2 separate regions of the Homo sapiens genome follow, and region 2 is linked to region 1. The links are contacts of gene promoters, found by promoter capture Hi-C in human tissues and cell types (Jung and others, 2019). All regions are on one chromosome and are shown on one strand. Each heading gives the region's core, a stretch centred on a gene start or on the middle of the fragment in contact. The rest is flanking DNA. Distances are from core to core; before and after follow the strand shown. Region 1 holds the start of CST8 (cystatin 8). Region 2 has its middle 110 kb from the start of LINC01747.

The links. Contacts are between HindIII fragments. The study calls those that stand out against the background at their distance.
Region 2: a fragment that was not itself captured here is called in contact with the fragment with the promoter of CST8 in region 1 in 2 of the 25 tissues and cell types used here (small bowel and spleen).

Annotation. Positions count from the first base shown.
Region 1 is chr20:23,487,748-23,492,611 of GRCh38, reverse strand. It overlaps CST8 (cystatin 8), which reads right to left and starts at 1,495. Exons shown (of 4, transcript NM_005492.4): 1 at 1,270-1,495; 2 at 714-1,087. The coding sequence starts at 944. RefSeq lists an enhancer at 1,531-2,031. The HindIII fragment of the contact is 12,460 bases long and covers 1-3,031 here.
Region 2 is chr20:22,791,585-22,796,320 of GRCh38, reverse strand. No RefSeq gene overlaps it. Among named protein-coding and RNA genes, the nearest start is that of LINC01747, 110 kb to the right of the region's middle. The HindIII fragment of the contact is 6,670 bases long and covers 1-4,736 here.

The DNA.
Region 1 (4,864 bases), core at 246-2,745:
CCATCAGCTCTCCTGGGCCTGAGATGCTCAGGTTCACACAGGCCTGACCAGGGGACAGCCCCCTCAGCCACATTAGGCCCCAGTCCCTCAGATTCCTGTGAAACCTCCCATCCTCTGGGGTTTCCCCACCCAAAGCCCCTCCCACCAGCTCAGCACACAGTCCATGAGGACCCATGCAGGCATGAGTTTGCCTGTCTTGTTCTCTGCTGAGTCTTTAGTGAGTAGAACAGCAGTAGGTTTATAGCAGGACATTAGTATTTGTTGAACTCATTAGTGACTGAATGCAATCAAGGCTACTTGTGATGTCCATTTAAATCTGTTTTCATCTGGCATTAAAGGATTACAGCAGGAGATGAAGGAGTGTCTGCTAGTTGGGTCCAGGTTCACCTGGACTCACCTTTATCAGATCTTTTCTCATGGCTAGCATTCTATCTGTCTCCCAACCTTAGCAAATACATGAACATTTGATTTGCAGTTTGGGGTTTAAATGAGTTAATCTATGCGAAGGACTTAGAACAAAAGCGCAAGCGTTTGTAGAAAGTGCTCTGTGTGTTCACTGCCTTATTGATGCTGTGGAAGTGTCTAGGCTCTTAAGCATTCACATATTTAGGATTTTTGCATAGTGATATTTTTCTTATATGCCCACTCTTTCAGTCTGGCTTCAACTGTGCCACCATATGCAAATGTCCACCTATATGGAAAGACACCTTTACCTGAAGCTGGGCTTGCAGTGTCTTGACCACCAGGAAGACATACTTGTCCTCGCTCTCTTTGTTGTATTCTTGCATGGCAAACCACAGACACTGCTTCACGTTGGCATTTGAGGCATTGACGGGTTTTAATTTCCTCAGCACCCCTGTCTCATTCTTTTTTGGGTCTTTCCTGGCCACCAGGGCCAGGGGAATGGTGAGGAGGATCAGGGAGAGCCACCGGCACCTGGGCATGGTCCCTTGGGCAAGAGGCAAAGTCGACTCTCCTCCTCGTCGTCTCAGGGCTGGAGCTGTGGGCAGGATGGGGTGGCCGCAGCTGCTGCTGTGGGTTCAAGAATCTTCGAGCCACACACTGCCTCCTGTTAGCGTCAGCCCAGCTGGATTCAAGACAGGCCATTAGGGTCACTCTTTGGGGTTTGTCCTCTCTTTCTCCATGGAAACCCACCCAGGAATGCCAGTTAAGGAGTCTCTCTACCAGCCTCCCCTCCTTACCCTGAGAGCAATCTGTGTGTCTAGGGAGAGTTCCTCTCCCCTTCGGCCCCAGTGTGTCTATGCCTACCCCTGTGAGCGTCACTCTTGTTATCTGCTTCTCAGTCCTGTATGATGTGATCATGAAAACTGTGGCTGCCCCAGAGGCCTTGTGGCCTCAGCCCTTGGTGGACTTTCAGCCTGCTGTGCCTGCAGCTCCTTCTTACTCCCTGTGGAGCTGGGAGCTGACCTGACCAGTGGTTCTCCTAGGTCTTCAGCACTCTTAGTTCATGCCTGTGGCCCAGTCAAGGGTCTCTGTGGGTCCTGGTCTGCGGTCTCTCTTGCCCCTCTGAGTCCACGCCCTGCAGGGAGGTTACGCTTTGTGATGTAATTCAGCACCTGTGTCTTGTCCCAGTGAGGACATCTCCCACTTGCCAGCCTCCGGCCTTTGGTCTAAACAGCTCTCACAGGGGCACAGAGAGCAAGCAAATGCCTCCTGCTGTGCCCTCAGAGTCAGGGGCCTGCAATGGTTAATACTGAGTGTCAACTTGATTTGATCGAAGGACACCAAGTATTGATCCTGGGTGTGTCTGTGAGGGTGTTTCCAAAAGAGATTAACATTTGAGTCAGTGGGCTGGGGAAGGCAGATCCACCTTTAATCTGGTGGGCACAATCTAATCAGCTGCCAGCGAATATAAAGCAGGCAGAAAAACGTGAAAAGGAGAGATGGTCCTAGCCTCCTAGTCTACATCTGTCTCCCATGCTAGATGCCTCCTGCCCTCGAACATCAGACTCCAAGTTCTTCAGTTTTGGGACTCTCAGACTGGCTCCCCTTGCTCCTCAGTTTGGCAGACAGCCTGTTGTGGGCCCTTGTGATCATGTAAGTTAATACTTAATAAACTCCCTTTTATATACATATTATTTATATATATAATTTATGTATATTTTATATATATATAATTTATATGTATATTTTATATATATACAATTTATATATATATTTTATATATATAATTTATATATAATTTTTATATATAAATTATATATATTTTATATATAATTTATATATATAAATTATATATATTTTATATATAATTTATATATATAAATTATATATATTTTATATATATAAATTATATATATTTTATATATATATAATTAATATATATATAATTTATATATATATTATATATATAATTAATATATATATAATTTATATATATATTATATATAATTAATATATATATAATTTATATATATATTATATATAATTAATATATATATAATTTATATATATATTATATATATAATTAATATATATATAATTTATATATATATTATATATATAATTAATATATATATAATTTATATATATATTTTATATATATATAAAGGGGAGTTTATTAAGTATTAACTTTATATATATACACAACCATATATATCCTATTAGTTCTGTCCCTTTAAAAGAACCCTGACTAATACAGGGCCCCTCTGGCATCTTCTGCCCACCTGTGCCAATGACTCTGGCTTCCTGAATGCCTGGCCTCTGAACTCCCTTGGCTTGGGCCAACAGTAACCCCCTGCCCTGTCCTGCCAGGGTAAGGGTCACGTGGCCCACTCTGATGCCCAGGCCTGGCCCTTAGTGGGAGGAGGGGGGCACGCACCTGTTAAGCTCTCAAAGCTTCTGCTTTTCTGTGAAAATCCCAAATCAGTGTCCAGAAAGTTCCTGGTGAGGCAGAGAGGTGAGCATTCTTCCTAGGCTGCAAAGATCAATGGGTTCTATGAGCAAGGGCAACGTACAGAAAACACATATGGGGCAGGAATCTGTCAGGCAGGTGGCAAAGCATTGCAGACTACAAATGCATTATGCTGTATTTAAACTTTCTCCCTATGACTAGATTCTTCAGTTTCTCATTTTCAGCTGTTACAAACAGTATTGCAGTGAACAATCCCTTTCCAATATCTTCATGATGTTACACAAGTGTTTTTGTAAAATAAAAGACTAGATGTAAAATTGATGCAAAGCTTTACGCAAATTTAAATTTATTATTTATTGCCAAAATGTTCGTCACTTACTAATTATATATTCATGATTTTCAAATCCTGCTGCATGTTAAAAGTACTGACGGAGATTTAAAACACCAGGGCATACCTAACTGATAAAATCAGAATCTCTGGAACAGGGTCCAGGAAGCCAGCTGTTTTTAAAGTTCCCCAGGGGTTCCAATCTGCAGCCAAGTTTGAAAATCAGTGTAGTGGATCTGCACTTCCTGATATTAATGTGCACATGAACCACCTGGGACTCTCGTTAAAATGTAGGTGCTGAGTTTGTGGGTCTGAGGCAAGGCCTAGATTCTGCATTTCTAACTAGCTCCCCATGTGATCCAAATTCTGCTGATACTCAGATCCCAGTTTGATTAGAGAAGTATTGACCTGTGACAATCCCTGCTTCTTCATATCTTTGCCTTCAGCCTAGCCTTTCTTCATGGAATAGATGATTATGTTCCGTTTATTTGATTTGTACTATTTGTATTATTGGTCAGGGTTAACCATGTTTTCATAGAGACTCACTGAGTCTAGGAGCACCTGATCTGGGCCCCAGGAGGCATGTAGAGCAGACTTCCCCTTGGTGAGGCCAGCTGTGACACCCTGAAGCAAAGCCAAGCCTCCTGGACAAGCCAAGGAGAAGTCAGCCTGTAGACCTATGTCCCTGAAAATGAAGCCTTACTGTAGTTAGCTACAGGATAGGGGTGGTTTGTTATGCAGCACTTCTGGGCCAACAGCTGACTGCTACACACACATTCACTGAATCAAAGCAGTATTTCTAGGTTTTAGACTTTGGAGAAGTATGTGGTGGTGGTTGTTAACTAGGTAAAAGATCCAAATCGTATATCTTTAACACTTTTATGCTCCTTTGGCCTTCACAAGCATCCACACTCACATGCACACACACACGTGCACACACACACCATCATCATGTTGATATTACTCAGAAATTTTTGATTTGGGCTTTCTCTGAACATACTCAGAGAGCTGCTCCAGTTACTTTGCACACTTTTCAAGCAGGAGTAAATCCTCACTGCTGCATGCTATCAATTATGAGGCTGTTTCTTACGTAGCACAGCTTATCTATACCAAACCTTTATACTTGAGGTCTTTTGTTTTCCTTTAATTTTAGAAAATATATCTCCATAATTTCTTCAAATATTTCCATCTTTTTATTTTTCTTCCATTTTGAGATTTCTATGGTCTTTTGGGGGAAGTAGTTGCAGGGCTTTTTGTTTGTTTCCAGCTTTATTGAGGCATAATTAACAAATAAAAAGTTATATAGAGGGTGCACGTGTGATGCTTAGACAGATAGATAGCAAAATGATTATCACAATCAAGCAAATTAGCATATTCATCCCCTCATATAGTTACCTTTTTTTTAATGGTGAGAACAGCTGTGATCTACTCCCTTAGCGAACTTCAAGTATACAATACATTATTATTAACTGCAGTCACCATGCTGCACATGAGGTCTCCAGAACTCATTCCTCTTACAGTTGAATGTTTGTACCAGTTGACCAATATCTCCCTCTCTCCTCACCCCCAAGCCCTTGGTAATCACCATTCTCCTCTCTTTCTATGAGTTTGACTTTTTATTAGAGTCCACATATGAAGGAGATCATGCAGTACTTGTCTTT
Region 2 (4,736 bases), core at 1,745-4,244, 700 kb after region 1:
GTTCACCAAGGAGTCTCCCTGTTAGAACCGATTTTGTTTCTACATATTTTATTATTATCTTTTGAGGAGAAGCATATTTTTGTGGTTGCATAGCGTTGACCACTTGCTTTACTGATGATCCCTTAACTGGTGACACAAGGCATGTGATGTCATCAGGGAAAAATGCCAACCTCCAGCAAAACATTAGCTTCTCTATCCATGTTTGAGCAACTTGGAAACAATTTTCCCGATATGATTCAACTACAAAAAATTAACAACACAAACATTCCCAGTGGCGGCCTCTGCCCTTGTTCTATGGCTTGGCCTTTGCTTAGGAACGTGGGAGCCACTTGCTTCCCTGGGAAGTCTGAGGCAATTACATTACCTTGAGCCAGACAAAGAGAGACAAGAGACAAAGACATTTTTCTCTCACAGGCTCTGCCTTGCTCTCTTCTAAAGAAGAGTGCACTAACACTCCTTTCACTTGGTTTCTACTCACAGATTGTCACTTCCTCTCAGCGCTTATGGACCAAGGGACATATTGGAAGAACAAGACTCTGTTGCCTTGCCGTAGTTATTTGCACACAGATCATCAGCAATCTCCTTGTTACCAAACCTCATGGCCCCATCTCAGTTCTGCCTTCACTGGTGTCTCTGTAGCATTCGAAGTTATCTGACTCCTGGCTCTCCTCCCACCTCTCTCCTCCTTCACGAGCTCCCTTCCTCTGTCTGCTTCTTCAGTGCCTGTCTGGTTAAGTTCCTGACCTCAGTGTCGTTTCCTCCTCACAGTCCCCTTCTGGTGACATCCACTCCCATGGCTTCTCTCTGACACTTTGCTGGGTCCCCTGTTGGCATGCCAGCCTTGCTCTGTCTCTATACTCATCACATAAAACTGTCACTGGACTGGATGCACCTGGATGCATCCATTCATTTGCTTATTTACTTGCTCGTCCATTTAATTAATAGCTATGAATGCTTACTTGGGAGTGCAAATAAGAAGCACAACCCCTTTTCTCACCCACTGAGGCAGTGTTTGTGACCACAGCTACCTTCAACTCAAAATGGTCATCATAGCTCAGTATCTTGGGCCTTAAAACTGCTCACCTCTATATGAATGTTCCCCAGTACTCAAGACCTCAATCCAATCAATTCATCTCCAAACTCCGGCAATTCTATTTTCTGTTTCTTGAATTGGTCACTTTCCTTCATCATAATTTCTGCTACCACCACCCCTTGGTGAAGCTACTCCCAACTTTTGCCTGAATTAAGGTGACCCCACCCTTCTATATTCCTCTTTGTGGCTTTCTATTATTGTCTTAGGATAAAGTCCAGTTTCCCTAATCTGGTGTCTGGGGCTCCTAAGACTTGTCCCTACCACCTTCCCAGCTTCCTGCCTGGATGTTCTTTAATGAGATGCCACAGCAGCCACACCACAGACTCCTTTCAGTTGCCAGCATGCACTTGGCTGTTCTTTCACCTGATGCCTTTGCACACAGTGTCCCCCCGACTCCTCTTCCCCACTGCACTTCTGACCCTTGGCTTCTAGTCTTTTCCTTCCCCTTTTCAGTTGTTCTGTTGGTTTTCCCTTTTCCCTCCATAATCAGCTTCTCTTTTCTAACTATGCTCACTCTCCAGGTGATGTCATTCAGCCTCAGCACTTTAAAAAACATCTATACATTAATAACTCTCACTGTTATTCCCTTGCTAACTCCCACTTGTCCCTTAGGTCTCAAGTTCCACATCACTCTCTCTAGGATGCCTCCTTTAATTCTTCAGGACTGAGGTTTGGAAAAACCTCCAATTTTCCTCAGTCCCCACACTCACCCTTAACATGACACATTGTGTCATAATTGCAGTCTGCCTTGACCATGTGATATGCTGTATAAAGGCAGAGGCTCCATTTTATTCTTTGTTCTAGCACGGTTCCCAGCTCATAGGATATGCCCAGCAAATATTTGTTAAGTTGATGAATGAGATAACCTATTTTTAAGCCAAGTCACCTGGCAGGTTGTCAAGCAAAAGAGTATGCACTCTTGGAAAGGGTGGGGAACTATGAAGGAATGAAAATGTCCCCAGTGCCCTCTCTAAGAAGCAGGAAAGAGATTACACAGAGTGAGCCCCTGTTCTTCTTTCTCATCTAGAAAAGGATCACATTATCCTTAAAGCCATTTAGGAAATTCCTGAATACTGAAAAAATATGTGAAAGAAGAGAGCTCAGAGAAAGCAGCAGAAATTAGTTCTGCCTCTTAGCCCCCATTCACAAAGCAGGGATCTCAAAATTACCTACTACTATTTATCTAAGCTCTTAGATTTTTGTTAGAAATGCCCAGTTTCTCTAGAAATTAAATGTCAGAGTTGGCTGGACTTGAAGTTGACCAATTCCTGGAGCAGTTTTAATGTACAAATAATGGAACTTAGGAAGAAGTTGTATATTTAAAATACATATTTGCAAAGTCATTGTAAAGCACCTTTAAAATATGTGTTAACTGTTTTTTAACTGATTTTTGGGTCTTAGACTTCTGCACTATAAGCTTTGCACCAAAATACATTCCTAGGATAAAGAAATATCAGTTACACCATCAGAAAAGCTGCTCACTTTTTTCTACTTGACCCAAAGTCTAGGCAAAAGTGCCAGAGAGTTGGATTGACACAGGGGATTAAGGGAGTCCTGAGAAAATGTGTTTCCCTCCTCAAGTGATAGCTGTGGGAGGGTAACTGGACTACTCCAGGAAGTGAGTCTCCTCATCAGCCACCATCAGGGAGAGGAGGTCTTCCCGTGGTGATTGTGTTAGGCTGTTCTTGCGTTGCTGTAAAGAAATATCCGAAACTGGTAATTTATAAAGAAAAGAGATTTAATTGGCACACCGTTCGGCAGGCTGTACAGAAAGCATGGTGCCAGTATCTGCTTGGCTTCTGGTGAGGCCTTAGGAAACTTACAATCATGGTGAAGGCAAAGTGGAAGCATATGTATCACATGGTGAGAGCAGGAGCAAGAGAGCCAGTGGGGAGGTGCCATACACTTTTAAACAAACAGACGTCACAAGAACTCACTCACTACCACAAGGACAGCACCAAGAGGATGGTGTTAAACCATCCGTGAGAAATCTGCCCCCATGATCCAATTAGCTCCCACCAGACCCCACCTCCAACACTGGGGATTACAATTCAAAATAAGGTTTGATGGAGACATCCAAACTGTTATCAGTGATTCTGACCTTAATGCCTGGAGGAACACATGGCCTGCCTCACACCAGAAGACAAGAGACCTTTACAAAGATGTCCTGAGAGCCATGTTCTGCTGATGAATTCTGCACCTGCAGCCGGCATTGCTTCCTAGATTCAACCTGAATGCGGGGCTTCCATTTGGTTCCTTTTGTGCCTGGTTCTCAGCCAATACTTATGGTTTCACTACAACTAATAATTTCCATTTTGTATGAATAAAAACAGCACTTAGGATGATAAATGTTTATTGAAAGACTCAAATTTTCATTTACTCTACAATCCTGCAAAATAGTCATAGTATGCCCATTTTAGAGGTAAAATTATTCTCAAAGAGGATAAGTGACTTGTTCAAGATTATGTAGCTATAAATAAAGTAGTAAAGCAAAATTATTTAGTAACATATAGAATGCTAACTAACAATAAAATGTGTAACAGGAGTGCTCCTTTTTCATGGGGTTTCATTCTACACAGAGGATAATTAGCCTCTTAGACTCCCCACCCCTGTCCCTCATCCCCGGATTTCATATTCTCCTGTTCTTACTGGAGCACACATCAACCATGAAAATTTCTTGGGGAAAGTCCTGAAAACTCCAAAACAAGAGCCCTTTGAAATCTCCCATGATCCTTCACTCAGCAGTTAGACATTCACTTGACCTCACTCTATTCTGAATTCTCTTTAGGGCTCAAAACTTGATGGCTATGTTTCATATGATGTTGATCCCAGGCTTTTATGAAAACTTCCTCAAGATGTTGGGTAAGACGTTACTACTTCCAAGAATCTGTCTCCTGTCTGAGCAAAGAAGGCCTTGAATTCTTTTCCTGCAGGGGATCTGAGCTTGGCTCATGCAGTTAGAGTAGGATGAGGGACTTGCATTACTAAGGGTCTGGCTTGCACACAAAGAGAGAGAAGCTGACGGCCTGTGGCAGCCCTCAGGAAGTTATCATGAGGTGTGCGAGTGGGGGAGTCTGATTTCAACCCTTCTTTGCACAGGTAAGGAAAGGGAGATGACAATGCAAAATGACTCATCCACCACCAACAACAACTTGGAGGCAGAATTAGGCTCAGAGTTCCAGAAACTGTACTTCCCACTGCATGCTGGTGACAGGCTCACACTTGGGACTTGACCTGTTGAGGTTACTTTTTTCCCTGCATCAGTCAAGATATCATTGCCTTAGCAACAATATGTTTGGTCATTTGTTATGGTTATTGGTAGAATATTTTTACTTTTTTCTTTCTACTGGATCACTCCCAACATCATGCAAACATCTGGTGATTTCTCTTATCTTGAGAAAACCCTGTCTTAGCCCTATATTCCCCTACAAGTGCCACCTCATTTCCTTGCTGTCCTTTAAAAGAAATCTCACTTTATCTTCCCATTTTCTCTTGAGTATGCTCAAACAAAGGATATTCGAGTCAACTTGAGATGCCCCTGCCACTCAATCAATCATGTCCTACTTCTGGAGCTCCAGGCACTGTTTTAGACACTGGAGACAAATTAGTCTTTTGCTGATGACATCCATGCTACTAAATCCAC